Linked DNA regions of Homo sapiens: all the other regions are linked to region 2. Evidence: promoter capture Hi-C in 16 types of primary human blood cells and fetal thymus (Javierre and others, 2016). All regions are on one chromosome and are shown on one strand. The core of a region is centred on a gene start or on the middle of the fragment in contact, and the rest is flanking DNA. Distances in the headings are between cores, read along the strand shown. Region 1 overlaps KATNBL1 (katanin regulatory subunit B1 like 1). Region 2 holds the start of NOP10 (NOP10 ribonucleoprotein). Region 3 has its middle 15 kb from the start of PGBD4. Region 4 overlaps EMC7 (ER membrane protein complex subunit 7).

Region 1 (4,532 bases), core at 305-2,804, 200 kb after region 2:
GTAGCTAGTGAAAAGTATAAATGGGTCTTAAATTTGTTCAGATCATTTGTTTACTGTGGTCAACTGCAGTATTCCTTTTTGTGGGCTAGTAAAAGGAGTTACTTTTGCATGATTTTTAACTATGTCTACCAGAACGATTTAATAAAAAAATAGTTTCATACCCTGTTTCAGTGTGCTTTTTAACAAATCAGATTATTGCCTTTCAGGTTTCTCAGGACCATGAAACAATGGCCCAAGTTTTGTTCAGCAGGAATATGAGATTGAATGTAGCTTTAACTTTCTGGAGAAAGAGAAGTATAAGTGAACTTGTAGCTTATTTGTTGAGGTAAGTGTGACCTTTTATCCTCTTTGTTCAATCACTTTTTTTCTGAGACAAGTTCTTGCTTTGTCATCCAAGTTGGAGTACAGTGGCACAATCATGGCTCACTGCAGCCTCAACCTGCTGAGTTCAAGCAGCCCTCCCACCTCAGCCTCCTGAGTAGCTGAGAGTACAGGTGCACATCACCACACCTGGCTATTTTTTAAAAAAATTTTTTGGAAGACATGAGGTCTTATGTTTCCCGGGCTGGTCTCGAACTCCTGAGCTCAGGTGAACCTTCTTCATTATTCTAAACTGCCTATATGTAGCTTCAGTAGAGACAGTATGGCTTAAATTACATTCCTCACCCATCTAAGAGTAACCAAAATACAGAAAACAATGTTTTATCAGATTGAACAAAGCTGTTACCTTTCCTGACTGTCATTCTTACCTATAAAACTAAGAGATAACGATATGGGAAAACTAACCTTCTAAAAATCCCTTTTGAGGCCAGGTGTGGCAGTTCTTGCCTATAATCCCAGCATTTGGGAAGGTTGAGGTGAGAGAGTCCCTTGAGCCCAGGAGTGAGAGACTGAGCAACATAGCAAGACTCCATCTCTACAAAAAATAAAAATAATAAGCCAGGCACAGTGGTACGTGCTTGTGGTCCCAGATACTTGGGAAGATCACTTTGAACCCAGGAGTTGGAGGTTGCAGTAAGCTGTGATTATGCAACTACATTCCAGCCTGGGCAACCGAATGAGACCCGTTTCTTAAAAAAAAAATTACTAAAAATAAAAAGTAAACATCCCTTTTGAGTGGGAATTTGAAGCATTACTTTCCTCATTGTATTCAAGTCTCTCAGATGTTACCTTAGGGAAGCCTTCTTTGACCAACTTATTTTAAAATACCTATTTCTCCACTCCCTATCTCGCTTTCCTGTTTTATTTTTCTCCATAGCACTTATATCAACCTGCTCTATATGTCTTATGTCTTGTTATTTGTTTATTGCCTGTCTCTGTCCCACCCCCCAACCCCCACAGTTGCTCACACACTGGAATACAAGCCCTGTGTCTTTGTTCATTGCTGTATCCACAGACATGACTCATTGTAGATACTGACATTGTTAAATGAATGAATTTCTCAAAAGCGGTGTGAATAATCATAATATGAAAGTAAATAAGGAAATCAGCTCTCTAAGGCAATGCTATTCTTTTTATACTCTCAGGATAGAAGATCTTGGCGTTGTGGTAGATTGCCTTCCTGTGCTCACCAATTGGTAAAAACAATATTTTTCAGAAAAAAAATAAGATTAAAGGAGGTCAAATTATGGCCCATCCATATTTTTATAACTTGGTATTTATTTTAGTTTACAGGAAGAAAAACAATATATCTCACTTGGCTGCTGTGTTGACTTGTTGCCTCTAGTAAAGTCACTACTTAAAAGCAAATTTGAAGAGTAAGTGCTAATCTGAATCTTGATTCATTTTTCTTTTTCAGCATCCTTGATTTTGTGCTTTGTGAGTACATAGTAGATTGGGCTCCATGAGACATGCAAGGTTTCTGTTTTCAAGAAGCTAATAGTACAATTAGGAAAAGAATATGAAATGACTAAAGGACAATTATAAAAGCATCTCTAAACAAATTACATGAAATATACTTTTGTGTAATAGATCATGAAGGTAACAATTTTTTAAAAGGGAAGGGACCAATGTGTGTGTGTGTTTTTTGGGAGGGAAAGTATCATCTTTTATAAGAAGGGTTCTTAGATGAAAACACTTGAATTTTGTAACAAAATGTCATTTCAGATATGTTATAGTTGGTTTAAACTGGCTTCAAGCAGTCATTAAAAGGTGGTGGTCAGAACTATCATCCAAAACAGAAATTATAAATGATGGGTGAGTATACCTTTAAAGATAAACTCATGCTGAAATTTTCTTCAGGAAAGCAGCTTGATTAAACTAGGTAATAATTTTATCCCATTATCATCAGTGTATGGTATTTATTCTTTTTATATTCAGAGAGATACTAACTTAAGAGACTGTTCATTTGTGAAAACCACACCTGGAAATTGAATTCCAGAGCCTACTAACCTCCTGTATCTCTTCTTCTGGCACAACCCTACCCTTCATTTTAGAAGAAAAACACAATAGTGGTTTAATTCTCATATTCATTATGAGTAAGGGAGGAAAAAGAGATGCCCACAGTGTAATAAGGAATGGAGGCACCCTGCGGGGTCCTTTACCTAGACATTAACCTGAGAGTCCGGTGTTGATGTTTACAGTTCTAAAAACTGTATTATTACTGCCTTGATGTGAAAATTCGTGGGTATTCTACCAGAGTATAGCCAGATTATCATGAAACCACAGAAAAATATCTCCCAACAGTTTCCTTAAAGTCCATAATTTTGGGCCAGGCACGGTGGCTGATGCCTGTCTGTAATCCCAGCACTTTGGGAGGCCAAGAAGGGCAAATCACTTGAGCTCACAAGTTTGAGACAGCCTGGGCAACATGATGACATCCCGTCTCTACAAAAAATACAAAAATTAGCCAGGCATGGTGGTGTGCGCCTGTAGTCCCAGCTACTCAGGCTGAGGCAGGAGGATCGCTTGAGCCCAGGAGGTGGAGGTTGCAGTAAGCCGAGATGGCACCACTGCACTCCAGCCTGGGCAATAGAGCCAGCCCTTGTCTCAAAAAAAAAAAAAAAAAAAGCCACAATTTATTTTGTAGGCTCTCAAAATTTTCTACTTCACACCAAGGAATGTCCAAATGTTCCAAACGCCTGGTCATTTTCTTACCTGCTTTGACAACTAAATAACCTTTAATTTTCTTTTTTTTTTTAATTGAAATCAAGTAAGAAATTTTATTAATTTTGGAATTGAAAAAACATCCTTTGTTGTTTCCAAGAATTAATTAAATAGGAGGCATTTGGCGGTATTATGTGGATAAACCTTTAATTTTCATGACTGACATGTATTATTCTAAAAGTTATTTGATTTTTTTTTAATTTCTCTCCACGTTCCCAAATGTTTTATTTCAAATAGCATCATTTTCTCCTGAAAAATACCTGAAAAATTTTAGAACAGTTTTTATTATGCATATTTATGATGAAAGTTTGTATCTTAATGTATTTGCTTTCTCATTTTTCTTCCTTTTTTTTCTTTTAGAAATATTCAAATTTTAAAACAACAATTAAGTGGATTATGGGAACAGGAAAACCATCTTACTTTGGTTCCAGGATATACTGGTAATATAGCTAAGGTAATCTATATTTAAGCTTATAAATTAAACATTAAAAATTAGAAATAATATTTTACATTTATAAATTAATTTTCAAGTCTCTAGGCAAAATAATATGGTACTGTTCTAATGTCTAAAGTCAATTTCATATTTTCAAATGCTTCAGGTCCTCTGCGTGTAACTGTGACCTTGGCAGCAAGCACAGGAATTGGCCATTGAACATGTTTCATGTACAGCCCCTGAAATGCTATGCTAGAGGATATTTACAGAGGGTTTTAATCAGAGAAAAGTATTTGAAAAAATTTTGAGAATCCAATAAGGACAGCATCAGAAAACAAGACGAGGAACTCAGGAAACAAGGGATAAGAAACATAATTAAATGGTTTTGGAGATTAAGTTTTACTTTTGCTAATGTTATGCTTTTTGAGAAGGTAAACTATTTAAATCACAGTGAATTTGACTTTGGTCTTTATTGATTTGTCTCGTAAAGGAAAAAGTAAAAATTGCTAGTTTGAATTTTAATATTTAAACTCCAGAAAACATTGGTAGTTAGGCCGGGCACAGTGGCTTACGCCTGTAATCCTAGCACTTAGGGAGGCCAAGGCAAGCAGATCACCTGAGGTCAGGAGTTCGAGACCAGCCTGGTTGGTGAAACCCCGTTTCTACTAAAAATACAAAAAATTACCTGGGTGTGATGGCACGTGCCTGTAATCCCAGCTACTCGGGAGGCTGAGGCAGGAGAATCACTTGAACCTGGGAGGCGGAGGTTGTGGTGAGCTGAGATCGTGCCATTGCACTCCAGTTTGGGCAACAGAGTGAAACTCCGTCTCAAAAAAAAAAAAGAAAGAAAAAACATTAGTAGTTAAAAATTAATTGAAGAAAAAATTGTCATTAAGAAATACTTTTACTTTATTACCGGGCATACTGCTATCATAAATGGGCATTAGCCAGGAATATAAAAAGCATTCTTTGGTTTTAAAAATATATATATATA
Region 2 (4,658 bases), core at 2,145-4,644:
CAGATTATCTTTTCCCACTAAGGTCCTTCCCACCTTACCCTCCCATCCTCCATCCTCCACATCCCCTTCCCCTCATAAGCTCAAGCATGGCAAAATCCTAGAACAGGCTCCAGTTGCCTAAAAAAGACAGATGAACTTGGGCCTTCCCCCTTGAAACCTCTCTGTGCCAGTCCTAAGACACATACCCCTGATCCTCTCTCCCACCACAAAAACACATGCGGAAGTGTCCCCTGTTCAAGAGAATCAAGTTGCTAATTGCCATCCTTTCTCTATACTCAGCATGTGTCCTCAGAGACACCTTAATCTGTCCTTAAGGAAGTCCTCTTCCTTCCCCAGCCCCTAGTCTTAAAGGTACAATCTCCTTCCCTAGCCTCCCCAAGTGTGATACCTTTGACGGGGTGTAGCACCTCACATTCCTTTAGGTCAGCCCAGAGAGCTTGTCTCAAAGGATATGAGCAGGTACCAGAAATCCTCCTCACCACCTGCAGACTTACCTCCATCTGAAGCCATCCTCTCAGGTTTGGGCACTAACTGTGGCTGTCTGGAAGCCTCCAGAATGAGGCAGTCAGGTCCAGGACCCAGAGTAACCTGGCTCCAGTAGGTGCACAGGGATCCAAGGAAGGGAAGGTAAAGATCAGATCACACAGAACTAGAATACGGAACTCAAGGCATTCTGCTGTGGGGGAGGGGAGAGGGAAAAGTGGGGTGAGGGTGGGGACAGATATTCCATGAAGGGTTCTAGTAAGTATGAAAAAACCAGGAATTCCCTTCAAACTACAGTTTGGCAACACAATTGATGTTTGCCTCTTTAGGGCTATTTGTAAACTTTTTCTCAGATTCCCAACACATTACAGTTTTACCGTTTGGTTCACTACACTTCGATTCTTCACCAACATATCTCATTTTGTGTCCTTCCATCCCAGCCAGTTCTGTAACTGACTTCCTATTAACAGCAGGTTGACTGTAGACCCCTGACTTAATTCAATGATGGCTATATTTTCTGAACTAAATTCAGAGTACATTGGTCTATACACGTAAGGATCAAGGGAACTAAAGTTTAAAATTAGAATTGTCAGATGATCCAAGGTGCTCGATTGCTGTGTGCACATCATTTCCTTGGAAAGCTGTCCAATCTACTAACATAGGCTCTGTACTCCACAGACGCCTTACCCTTTGCTGAAAAGCCTCACTAAATAAAAAAGCTGCCATGCAGTTTAAAATTTCAAGAGTAGAAAGTCCTTCTTTTTGTTAAATTATTTTGGTTTAAACTTTAAAAATAAAATTTATCTGCTAAGGTTCCTGGCGACTATTTCAGGCCAGTAACTCCCAGAGCATCCTCTACAGCCACAGCTTCATCCAAACGTGGATTTCCCCCAAAAGGCCTTCCCTGGGGTTCATGGCATCTTTCTTGCTTCCTCTGAGATATCTTTTCTCTTTTCTAAAGACCTGAAGGCTAAAATCATCATTTTCCTTTCTAACAAAATTAACTACTTAGATTTAAATTTTTTTTTTTAAACAGAGTCTCGCTCTGTCACCCAGGCTGTAGTGCAGTGGCGTGATCTCTGCTCACTGCAAGCTCCGCCTTCCGGGTTCACGCCATTGTCCTGCCTCACCCTCCTGAGTAGCTGGGACTACAGGCACCCACCACCATGCCCGGCTAATTTTTTGTATTTTTAGTAGAGACGGGGTTTCACTGTGTTAGCCAGGATAGTCTCGATCTCCTGACCTCATGATCCGCCCGCCTCAGCCTCCCAAAGTGCTGGGATTACTAGGCGTGAGCCACCGTGCCCGGCCTTTAAAAAATTTTTAACAGGTAATAAATACATTAGCAAGGTTCAAAAATCAAACTGCGTAATAAAATACATAGCAATAAGTCTGCCTCCCAACCCTTACCCCTTTCTCCTGCAACTAAGTTCTCTATCCCAGAGGAAACCAGTATCATCTGTTTCTTGTGAATACTTGCAGAGATTTTTTATGCAACTACAAGTAAATACAAACCATATTCTTTTTTTTTTTTTTTTTTTTTTGAGACAGGATCTCGCTCTGTCGCCCAGGCTGGAGTGCAGTGGCGTGATCTTGGCTCACTGCAACCTCCGCCTCCTGGGTTCAAGTGATTCTCCTGCCTCAGCCTCCCGAGTAGCTGGGACTACAGGTGCCCGCCACCACGCCCCGCTAATTTTTGTATTTTTGGGGGTTTCACCATATTGGCCAGGCTGGTCTCGAACTCCTGACCTTGTGATCCACCCGTCTCAGCCTCCCAAAGTGCTGGGATTACAGGCGTGAGCCACCGCGCCCAGCCACAAACCATATTTTTTTTTCTTTAAGACGGACCCAGGCTGGAGTGCAGTGGTGCTATCTCAGCTCGCTGCAACCTCTGCCTCCCCGGCTCAAATGATTCTCCTGCCTCAGCCTCTGAAGTAGCTGGGACTACAGGCGCCCACCACCACGCCCGGCTAATTTTTCTGTATTTTTAGTAGAGACGGGGTTTCGCCAGATTGGCCAGGCTGGTCTCGAACCCTTGACCTGTGATCTGCCTGCCTCAGCCTCCCAGTGTTGGGATTACAGGCGTGAGCCACCGCGCCCCGCCAAACCATATTCTTAAAAAAAAAAAAAAAAAAGTGCAGGTTTTTCTGGTTACACAGTTAATATATATTCCAATGCTTTTGTCATTGTAAATAATGGCGTAACGATGATCTTTGTAATGATATTTTGGTTCTCATTTTCATTTCTTTAAACGAGAGTCTTATAAGGAGAACTTCTATATTCTTTTAAAAATTGTAAAAACTCCTAGAAGGTGCACTTTATTACGTTATTATTAGCTACTCACCACCATAAGAAAGAGCGCTGAATTTGCGGTAGGGACCTAACTTTAAATCTTGGTTCGACCGCTGAAACATGCTTCACCAGTTTCATAAAATAACTTTACGCTCTTTCGCTTTACGGAATATTGATACTCAACATGCATTCTTTACCGCCAACGCTTTGAAATGGAGCAGGGGAACTGGATGTAAAAGAGGGGAGGGAAGAAAACCTCTTCTTTCTTCCCTAGGGTAAAGGGGCTCTGAATCCTGGAGCCCTTGTTTCTTCAGGCATTGAAAACTCACTGCTCCTGAAATGGGTGTGTATCTTGAGACAAAGACAGGCTTCTATACGTCAATATTCTATCCACATCCATCCCTACCCCCCTCTAACGCCGTGTACCTAGCACACAGTAGGGACACTCCACGTGTTTTAGCCTGCAAAGTTGCAAGTAGGGCCCCAAGCCAAGCCCTGCTCTCGTGCGCCCCCTTCTGGCTAGCTGAAAACAAGGCAAAAATTGACTACATTTTCCGGAGTGCCAGGAGAGAGAGACTTCCGGTTATGCAGGAAGGAAATTGACGAACACGTGACGCGGTCGGGCGGACCACTGCAGACTGAGCGGTGGACCGAATTGGGACCGCTGGCTTATAAGCGATCATGTTTCTCCAGTATTACCTCAACGAGCAGGGAGATCGAGTCTATACGCTGAAGGTGAGGAGAGAAAACAGGGTGTAAATAGGCATGGCGAGAAATGTAGATGGGAGGAGTGGGTGAGGTCATACGTGGAGTTACCTAGCTGGGTGCGGGGAACCAGAAAGTCCAGAACCGAGGTGGGGAAGAACCGGGACCGCGCGACTCATTTTTTAATTAAAAGAAAAAATTCTGGCGGGGCGCAGTGGCTCCCGCCTGTAATCCTAGCACTTTGGGAGGCCGAGGCGGGTGGATTGCCTTAGCTCAGGAGTTCGCGACCATTCTGGGCAACACTGTGAAACTCCGTTTCTACTAAAATACAAAAAATTAGCCGGGCATGGCGGTGTGCGCCTGTTATCCCAGCTACTCGGGAGGCTGAGACAGGAGAATCGCTTAAACCCGGGAGGCAGAGGTTGCAGTGAGCCGGGATAGCGCCATTGCACTCACTTTTCCTTTTTTTTTTTTTTTTTTTTTTTAAAGACAGGGACTCGCTTTGTTGCCTAGGCTGTAGTGCGGTGGTGCGGTCTCGGCTCACTGCAACCTCCGCCTCCTGGGCTCAAACAATCCTTCTGCCTCAGCCTCCCGAGTAGTTGGGACTACAGGCGTGCGCCACCATACCCGGCTAATTTTTGGTTTTGGGGTTTTTTGTTTGGTTGGTTGGTTTTGTTTGTTTGTTTGTTGTAGAGACGAGGTTTCGCCATATTGCCCAGGCTGGTCTCAAACCATCCTCCCGCCTCGACCTCCCAAAGTGCCAGGATTACAGGCGTGAGCCACCGCGCTCGGCCTTTTTAAATTTTATATTTCTCTATTTATTTGTACAACTTTTTGAGTTGACCATTGCATCTTCTATTTTCATGTTTGCCCTTTTTCGCGCTGGCCCCACCCCATTTCATCACTCCTGTACTGACATACATTCTGTGTTCCTGGAGCAGAAATTTGACCCGATGGGACAACAGACCTGCTCAGCCCATCCTGCTCGGTTCTCCCCAGATGACAAATACTCTCGACACCGAATCACCATCAAGAAACGCTTCAAGGTGCTCATGACCCAGCAACCGCGCCCTGTCCTCTGAGGGTCCCTTAAACTGATGTCTTTTCTGCCACCTGTTACCCCTCGGAGACTCCGTAACCAAACTCTTCGGACTGTGAGCCCTGATGCCTTTTTGCCA
Region 3 (4,728 bases), core at 527-3,026, 230 kb after region 2:
ATGATCTATTCTGTCTGACTTAGAAAGCTCTTCCTTATAATAAGATTTAATCTATTTCTCTAGAGCTGCCATACATTAGTCCTTTTTTAAACCTTCTTATCAGAACTTCTTATCAAATCAGCCAAAACCTTTACTCAAGAAGATGACTCGATTGCAGTTTTCTGGAAGTTCACAGGATGCCCTCACTATCTGATGTAAGCTATGTTTATTCCATGGCCAGGTCATCTGTCAGGCTATTTTCTGTACAGTTGCACATGTAATTATAGGATTTGGGCTGGGCACGGTGGCTCACGCCTGTAATCCCAGCACTTTGGGAGGCTGAGGCAGGCAGGTCACTTGAGGTCAGGGGTTCAAGACCAGCCTGGCCAACATGGTGAAAACCTGTCTCTACTAAAAATACAAAAAGTGGCCAGGCATGGGGGTGCACGCCTGTAGTCCCAGCTACTTGGCAGGCTGAGGCAGGAAAATCACTTGAACACGGAGGCAGAGGTTGCAGTGAGACCAGATCATGCCACTGCACTCTGGCCTGGGTGACAGAGCCAGACTCCATCTCAAAAAATAAAAATTACGGCACTTAAACTAAATTCATGATTCATATTGTTTCTTTATAAATTTTAGTAATTCTTTATAGAGACATTTTTTCTTGGGTGTTGAAATATAGAGGCTCAAATGACAGAAAAAGGAATGTGATCTTATATTCTGTCAAAGCATTCTAAATGTTCCATTTATATTATAATTAGCATGTAGCAACCAGATTTAAAGTTTAAGAAGTCGTTTGCTTTGTTTCTGAGTTGTTCAGAACTTTCTAAAAACCCTGTGGTTGTTAATAGGTATCTTCTAAATGAAAAATATATGGTACATCTGGTTCCTGTGATTCACTTGCTCCTTTGAAGCTAGAAAGAAAAAGAACATTTGGGCCGATCACAGTGGCTCATGCCTTGGGAGGCCAAGGCGGGCTGATTGCCTGAGCTCAGGAGTTCGAGACCAGCCTGGGCAACACCGTGAAATCCTATCTCTACTAAAAAATTGGCCAAGCGTGGCGGCGTGCGCCTGTAGTCCCAGCTACTCAGGAGGCTGAGGCAGGAGAATCGCTTGAACCCGGGAGGTGGAGGTTGCTGTGAGCTGTGATCGCACCACTGCACTCCAGCCTGGGCGACAGGGAGAGACTCCATCTCCAAAAAAAAAAAAAAAAGAAAAAGAAAAAGAACATTTGGGTCCTCACTACCCGAGAACTCCTAATGCTCCTTCCTCAAGGTATGTACACTTTTTTCACCACCCTTTTCCAGACCAGAACTTGACTTAGAGCCTAAGAAAAGAAGAGTGAATGCATTGCTAACCAGCTGCCCAAATGATTGCCATTTAACCTTCAAAGCTCTGCATTCAATTAGAGTCAAATGCAGGCAGTAACTAAGATAACAAGTCAGGGGAGTATTGGGAAGGGGCATTTTCCTGGTAGGCCTTCCTTGCTGTAGGTATATTTGGGTATAAGTCTGAATATTAGAGGAAAAGCCAGACCCTACTATGACCATTCAGATAGACCAGCCAGGTTGAGCACTGAAAACCCTAATCACAGATGAAAATGACATGATATACTAGCATAAAGAGAATTTGCAGTCTGATTATAACTTATGATGAAAGTTATGAGGTATGCACCCAGGAGACCGTCCCTTCTCCAATATCCTTTTTCCTGAGGTAGAATGACAGGCCAGCATTTTCCTCTGTTTCCCTTGAGGCTTCCAGATTTGGTCCTGTCATGAATCTTCTTTTCTGAAACTGTAGTGATCTCTTTTTGTTACTCTCAGTCCATCTATCCAAGATATTTTGCCACCCTTTCTTTAGCATCTGGTTCTACCTAGTCTCCTACCCTCATTGATGACATCTAGATTCAAGTTAATTCTTCAGGTTTAAAACAAAGTACAGAAAAGAAACATACATATGAGTCACTTGTATTTACAAGAGAAGACTGTGAATTTATAGACATGAGCTGACAACTAAAAAAGTACCCCTGTGGGAAATTATATATGTATACATCTGCTTTTGCAACAAGGGACTGAATGATTGATATTTAAACTGCAATTGTACCTGTGTTAAAGTCTAACTTTGGGAAAATTATAGGTAAAAATGTATCCATTTGTATCATTAAACTTTCTAGGGTTAACACCATACAAACTAACAGAGTACACGGTTTTTATAATTAAAAAACAAGAAGAGGCAGGGTGTGGTGGCTCCCACCTGTAATCCCAGCAGTTTGGGAGGCCGAAGCAGGCGGATCACTTGAGGTCAGGAGTTCGAGACCAGGCTGGCCAACATGGCGAAACCACATCTCTACTGAAAATATAAAAAATTAGCCAGGCGTGGTGGCGTGTGCTTGTAATCCCAGCTACTCTGGAGGCTGAGGCAGGAGAATCGCTTGAACCTTGGGGCGGAGGTTGCAGTGAGCCGAGATCGTGCCACTGCACTCCAGCCTGGGCAATGGAGCAAAACTCTGTTTCAAAAAACAACAACAAACAAAACAAACAAGAAAAGCAGCAATGGAAAATTATGACCAACTAACAACAACACTGCTGATCCAGTTTCAGATAGCATCTTGTCTGAAAATCATAGGAATTCCAACCATCTGCCTCTGCCCATTAATTGTGGGAGCTCAGCAATCTGCCAACTATTGTATGGCTGCCAGTCTTACCCGTAGAATTCTGAATTAGAGTCTTCAACAAACCAAGGCCAGCATTCCCATTAGGCACAGTAAATACAGGGCCTAGCGCCAATGATACTTTCAGGGCTCCACAAAAATGTCTTAATTCCTTTTAAAATAAGAAACAATAGTGAATATACAATAATGAATCTGCCTGTAGTATATTTATCCTTATCTCAGTGCAGCAATAAAATATAATTTTTAATTTTTTTATGGAGGAAAGTGATCTACAAAGGCAAAAGTGCTTAGGACCCCCCCAAAATTGTGACATAGCCCTGTGGTAAACTCTCATACTCTGCTAATTTAGCTCATGAATACCAAATTTACATCCTTAATAACTCATAAGATATAGCATTGTTGTGAGCGAGAATAAAAAGAATGAGATCCTATAGTGCTATGTGAAACTTTATGAAGCTGTTTGTCATATGATAAAAACTGAAAAAGAATTTATATTTTAGCATCTGGACTGGAGGATCCTCAAAGCCCACCCAGGAACAAAAGGCCATACATAATCTCAGGTCTCCTCCTTTCCTACTTAAAGTGGCTCCATCCGCTAGTAGCATGAAGGAGCGTCTTAGAAATGCAGAACCTGTTTGGGCCAGGTGTGGTGGCTCATGCCTATAATCCCAGCACTTTGGGAGGCCAAGACGGGCAGATCACCTGAGGTCAGGAGTTCGAGACCAACCTGGCCAACGTGGTGAAACCCTGTCTCTACTAAAAATACAAAAATTAGCCAGGTATAGTGGAACATGCCTGTAATCCCAGCTACTCGGGAGGCTGAGGCAGGATAATAGCTTGAACCCAGGAGGCAGAAGTTGCAGTGAGCTGAGATCACACCATTGCACTCCAGCCTGGGTGACAAGAGTGAAACTCCGTCTAAAAAAAAAAAAGAAAGAAAGAAATGCAGAATCTCAGGCCCTATCCAGGCCTTCCTAATTAAAGTGTACATTTTTTACAACATTTGCAGGTGATATGTATGTATGTGAAAATTGAGAGGCGCTGTCAGTTTTAGAAGAATCTATACCTAGGAAAATATTCTCCATTCTAAAGGAGAGGACTGGCCAGGCGCAGTGGCTTACGTCTATAATCCCAACACTTCAGGAGGCCAAGGCAGGTGGATCACCTGACGTCAGGAGTACAAGACCAGCCTGGCCAACATGGTAAAACTCTGTCTCTACTAAAAACACAAAAACTAGCAGGGCATGGTGATGTGTGCCTGTAATCCCAGCTTCTAGGGAGGCTGAGGCAGGAGAATCACTTGAACCCGGGAGGCAGAGGTTGCAGTGAGCCAAGATCACACCACTGCACTCCAGCCTGGGCGAAAGAGCAAGAAGACTCCATCTCAAAAAATAAAAATAAAAATAAAATTAAATAAAGGAGAGGACTGCTCCAAAAGCAGTATCGATACAATATATTTTCTTGACCCCTTTGTAGGACTCATGACAGGGGTGCCCCATTTACTCAGCCCACTCTGCTCAAGCCCTTGCTGGATGGAGCACATGAGCAAAGGAGTGTGGGAACCAGCCGGTCACTTCAGCGCCAGTGGGAGCAAACTCTGTTCACTAGGGTTTGCAACCATGTTCCACCCCTTGCTGGAGGGAGTGCATAGGTGACTGAGTGCAGTAACCAGCTCACTGCTTTAGCGCCAGCAGAAGTGAATTCTGTGCAGGCCCCAAGGCAGTGTCCAGGTGAGAGTGCCTGTGACCCCAAGGCCTTAGAGGGCGTGTTACAATGCTCACTTAGCTCTGCCATCCACAAACAGCAGTGTGTTATCAGCTCAGTGGGCATTTTGCCTCATTGAGTGGGGTGGCTGCCCTCCACCGGCGAGGGCAAAGGGCCAGTGTGACAGCCTTTTTGGCTACCTGCACTTGGTGCATACTGAATTCTTGTCCAGTGCCCAGGGGGAATAAGGTCACACAGAAAAATTGAAGGATGGTGAATGCAGAGAATTTTATTGAGCAACAAAAGCAGCTCTCAGCAGAGAGGAGAGCTGGAAAGGGTTGAGAAGGGCAGGTTGCTCTCCCCTAAAACCAAGT
Region 4 (4,409 bases), core at 1,642-4,141, 250 kb after region 2:
AATTGGTTCAGTCAGGGTCCCATTAAGAAGTAGAAGATGCACTCAAATTAGAGTAATTCAAGGATAATTTAATGAAGGCATCAAACAGTGTAGTCATGGTGTTGGGAAACAGCCAGATTGTGCAGTACCCTGGAGCTTACATCCTCAAGGTTATTATCACCACCTCTAATCCTGAAGGAAGAGGAGAGTAGAGGTTACTGGAACCTTGAAGGGAAGAAAGGCCTGCATTGAAAGACACAAACCAGTCCCTTAACACAGCCAGTCAGAGGTGGCCTGTCAGTGAGAGGTCTGGGGGGAAAATAGACTAAGCTCATTTTCTTTCCTTCCTCCAGTCTGCAAAGAGGAGAAAGGTAGAGAGTGGATCTAGAGGGCAAATGGAACATGTCCAGGCCAGGCATAAGTTAACTTTTTTACATTTCAATTCTGGCTTAGTGTGCTCTGGAGTGACACTTTTTCATCTTACTTTTTTTTTTTTTTTTGAGACGGAGTCTCGATCTGTCACCCAGGCTGGAGTGCAATGGCACAATCTCGGCTCATTGCAACTTCCGCCTCCCAGGTTCAAGTGATTCTCCTGCCCCAGCCTCCTGAGTAGCTGGGACTACACGCGCATGCCACCACACCCAGCTAATTTTTGTATTTTTAGTAGAGACAGGGTTTCACCGTATTAGTCAGGATGGTCTCGTCATCTTGCTTTTTAGTAACTGTTGTGGATATCATCAGTATCAGTTATTCCTTTAACTATGAAAGAGCCTATGAGGATTTAAGAAGCATTATTTTAATATATTATTATGATATCGGGAATTCTCTGATACAGTTGGTCATTTTAGAACCATTTGTTTTCCTGAAACATAAACTTTTTTTCCCCCCTCAGAATAGTAGTTTCTCATTTTTCAAACAAATTAATTTTGATCTGTGAAATGAAATTATCAGCTCTTGATAGGATGGTTTTCTAAGTCTAGGAAGTTTAGAAGAAATCAGTAAGGAAAAGATGGATGTTTTTAACTACATAAACATTTTAAGCTTCTAGTAACCAAAGTAAATGGGAATTATTTATAGCAAATAGAACAAATGGTACTTAAATACCTTTTATTATTTGTTAAAAAGAACAGAAAACCGGCCAGGCGCAGTGGCTCACGCCTGTAATCCCAGCACTTTGGGAGGCCGAGGCGGGCGGATCACGAGGTCAGGAGATTGAGACCATTCTGGCTAACACGGTGAAACCCCGTCTCTACTAAAAATACAAAAAATTAACCGGGCGTGATGGAGGGCGCCTGTAGTCCCAGCTACTCGGGAGACTGAGGAAGGAGAATGGCGTGAACGCAGGAGGCGGAGCTTGCAGTGAGCCGAGATAGGGCCACTGCACTCCAGCCTGGGCAACAGAGTGAGACTCCGTCTCAAAAAAAAAAAAGAAGAAGAACAGAAAACCAAAAATTGCAAGTTAAAACTAGAACAAAATGCCTTTTTTTTTTTTTGTTGGAGATGGAGTTTTTGCTCTGGTTGCCCAGGCTGGACAGCTCACTGCAACCTCTGCCTCCCGGGTTAAAGCAATTCTCCTATCTCAGTCTCCCGAGTAGCTGGGATTACAGGCATGCGCCACCACGCCTGGCTAATTTTGTATTTTTAGTAGAGATGGGGTTTCTCCATGTTGGTCAGGCTGGTCTCTAACTCCCAACCTCAGGTGATCTGTCTGCCTCGGCCTCCCAAAGTGCTGGGATTACAGGCGGCAGCCACCACGCCTGGCCTGCCATTTTTAACAGTAAGAAGTTGTTGGGGGTGACTGGCAAAATTGGAACCCTAATATTTTAATAATAATGTATATTCAATGAAGACATGGCTTTAGAATGGGAATTGTGTTTCTGTCACCTGTCATCTCTACCCATAGAAGGAAAATAATTACTTTCTATGTCAGGCTTCTCTGCTACCCTGGAGTGGTCTTGGGTATTTTCAGAACCTATTCAGTGTAATTATAGACACTGAAGGCCGGCACAGTGGCTCATGCCTGTAATCCCAGCACTTTGGGAGGCTGAGACGGGTGGATTACCCGAGGTCAGGAGTTCGAGACCAGCCTGGCCAACATGGTGAAACCCCGTCTCTACTAAAAATACAAAAATTAGCTGGGCATGATGGGGCACGCCTGTAATCCCAGCTACTCGGGAGGCTGAGGCAGGAGAATCGCTCGAACCCAGGAGGCGGAAGTTGCAGCGAGCTGAGATCGTGCCATTGCACTCCACCCTGAGCGTCGCAGCGAGACTCCGTCTCAAAAGAAAAAAGAAAAGAAACTGAAGCATAGGACAACTTTCGCCAAGGTTTTGTTTGTTTGTTTGCCCGTTGCTTTTAATGTCATTTTTCGGGAGAGTTGATTTGGGAATTAGCAAGTAAGAAAAGACTAAGCTGTTGATCAGTAGTAGCTAAACATGATTTTCATTTTTCCAGGACAGATGGGAGTTTTGTGGTTCATGATATACCTTCTGGATCTTATGTAGTGGAAGTTGTATCTCCAGCTTACAGATTTGATCCCGTTCGAGTGGATATCACTTCGAAAGGAAAAATGAGGTGAGGGCACCTGATTTAATTTTTGCCAAAAGCTAGGCTACTGAATACCTTAGTATATATTCCTTTTAGAATTAATAGTTTAGATGGAAAATTCTTTTTATTTAAACTACAGCTATTCCTTAAAACACTTAAAATATCCTCGTTTATTTAATCTGAACATTGAAAAAATTGTAAAGTTGAGCTTCTTGCTCTGGCTTAAAATTTATTTTAAAGCTCCTAATATGATTACATAAAGAAAAGGTAAGATTACTTACTATAGGAGCTAAAGTGCTATGAAAGTTATAATTGAAATATGATTATTAAGTTGGAAATAATTTAACTTTTCTAAATTAGAAATACTATTCATCACCTGTTTTTCACTGGGATATTTTGATAATACCTCTTATTACCTATTTGATACTTCATTGATCTGGAAATTTCTGTGGTCCTTTCTTTATGGAATCTTTTATGTTCAATGGAAATATAGTATTTCTAGGGAAAACAATTGAGGTGAAAAGAACTATAGTCTAATTTAGACTGTGAGTGTGGAATAGCAAAACCTATTTGAAGTTGAAACATTTGTATAGTATCTATAGTCTTCAGAGTCAGCTTCCCATTATAATAGAACACATTTATTTATTTATTTTGTTGTCTCATGGCAATAGCATCCTCTTTGGTCAAATCTGACCAGGAAATATATGAAGCAACTCCTAAGTGGTAATGTCTCTTCTTTAAGCTATCAAATATGACTATGTTGCAGTAATAAAGCACAGGTCATGCAAAGGCAAAAACAATTTCTGGAGGTGGAGGACTAATAAATAATTTTACTACTGATCTTTTTGGTGTCTGCGCAGCATATTTAGACTGACTTGTAGAGACTCAAAATTGAGCTGACACATGTTCAGTTAGTACCATACTATTTACATTTGAGTTAGTGTTTACTCCTAAAATTTGTAATTTGTTTCTTCTTTCTTTGCTTTCTTTGACATTGAAAGTTTTAAAAATGTAATATGTAAATATGCCATAATTCAAATAGAATGAGTCACACATGGAGTTGTCCCATCCTTTATCTTAGCTGCGTGTTAGTCCATTGGTGGATTTGACATCATTTATATAACCGGCTCCTATTGATAGACAAGCAGTGATTTCTTTCTCTTCTTTTAGCATGTATACTAAACAGAGACAGTTATCAAGAGAATATTCTTTTTTTTTTTGAGACAAAGTCTTGCTCTGTTGCCCAAGCTAGAGTGCAGTGGCGCAATCTTGGCTCATTGCATCCTCTGCCTCCCAGGTTCAAGGGATTCTCGTACCTCAGCCTCCCAAGTAGTTGGGATTACAGCTGCACGCCACCATGCCTGTCTGATTTTTTGTTTGTTTGTTTGAGATGGAGTCTCGCTCTGTCACCCAGGCTAGAATGCAGTGGTGTGATTTCGGCTCACTGCAACCTCTGCCTCCTGGGTTCAAGCAATTCTTCTGCCTCAGCCTCCTAAGTAGCTGGGACTACAGGCACCTACCACCAACGCCCGGCTAATTTTTGTATTTTTAGTAGAGACGGGATTTCACCATATTGGCCAGGCTGGTCTCGAACTCCTGACCTTGTGATCTGCCCGCCTCCCAAAGTCCTGGGATTACAGGTGTGAGCCACGGCACCTGGCTTGATTTTTTTATTTTTTTGTAGAGATGGGGTTTCGCCATGTTGGCCAGGCTGGTCTCAAACTCCTGACCTCAAGTGATCTGCCCACTTTGGCCTCCCAAAGTGCTGGGATTACAGATGTGAGCCACTGCACCTGTCCAAGAGAATATTCTTGATATTATCAGGAAAGTAATACTCTAATGCCACTAATATATTCTTAAAAACAAATTACTTTTCCCCCCTA

What was found. The method cuts DNA at HindIII sites, captures the fragments that hold promoters and counts their contacts. A CHiCAGO score of 5 or more calls a contact.
Region 1: a contact is called between a fragment that was not itself captured here and the fragment with the promoter of NOP10 in region 2, in 1 of 17 cell types (neutrophils). The highest score is 6.1, in neutrophils.
Region 3: a contact is called between a fragment that was not itself captured here and the fragment with the promoter of NOP10 in region 2, in 1 of 17 cell types (neutrophils). The highest score is 7.8, in neutrophils.
Region 4: a contact is called between a fragment that was not itself captured here and the fragment with the promoter of NOP10 in region 2, in 6 of 17 cell types (neutrophils, naive CD4 T cells, fetal thymus and 3 more). The highest score is 9.8, in neutrophils.

Annotation. Positions count from the first base shown.
Region 1 is chr15:34,144,425-34,148,956 of GRCh38, reverse strand. It overlaps KATNBL1 (katanin regulatory subunit B1 like 1), which reads left to right. Exons shown (of 10, transcript NM_024713.3): 5 at 207-325; 6 at 1,527-1,577; 7 at 1,668-1,757; 8 at 2,107-2,196; 9 at 3,466-3,559. Among named protein-coding and RNA genes, the nearest start is that of PGBD4, 45 kb to the right of the region's middle. The HindIII fragment of the contact is 4,046 bases long and covers 1-3,577 here.
Region 2 is chr15:34,341,872-34,346,529 of GRCh38, reverse strand. NOP10 (NOP10 ribonucleoprotein) reads left to right here and starts at 3,394. Exons shown (of 2, transcript NM_018648.4): 1 at 3,394-3,510; 2 at 4,422-4,658. The coding sequence starts at 3,457. The coding sequence ends at 4,562. NUTM1 (NUT midline carcinoma family member 1) reads right to left here and starts at 3,215. Exons shown (of 8, transcript NM_001284292.2): 1 at 2,828-3,215; 2 at 495-588. The coding sequence starts at 2,833. RefSeq lists silencers at 3,362-3,461, 3,542-3,651. The HindIII fragment of the contact is 8,760 bases long and covers 1-4,658 here.
Region 3 is chr15:34,114,768-34,119,495 of GRCh38, reverse strand. No RefSeq gene overlaps it. Among named protein-coding and RNA genes, the nearest start is that of PGBD4, 15 kb to the right of the region's middle. The HindIII fragment of the contact is 6,969 bases long and covers 1-4,728 here.
Region 4 is chr15:34,094,039-34,098,447 of GRCh38, reverse strand. It overlaps EMC7 (ER membrane protein complex subunit 7), which reads left to right. Exons shown (of 5, transcript NM_020154.3): 2 at 2,434-2,553. Among named protein-coding and RNA genes, the nearest start is that of EMC7, 5.6 kb to the left of the region's middle. The HindIII fragment of the contact is 3,737 bases long and covers 1,023-4,409 here.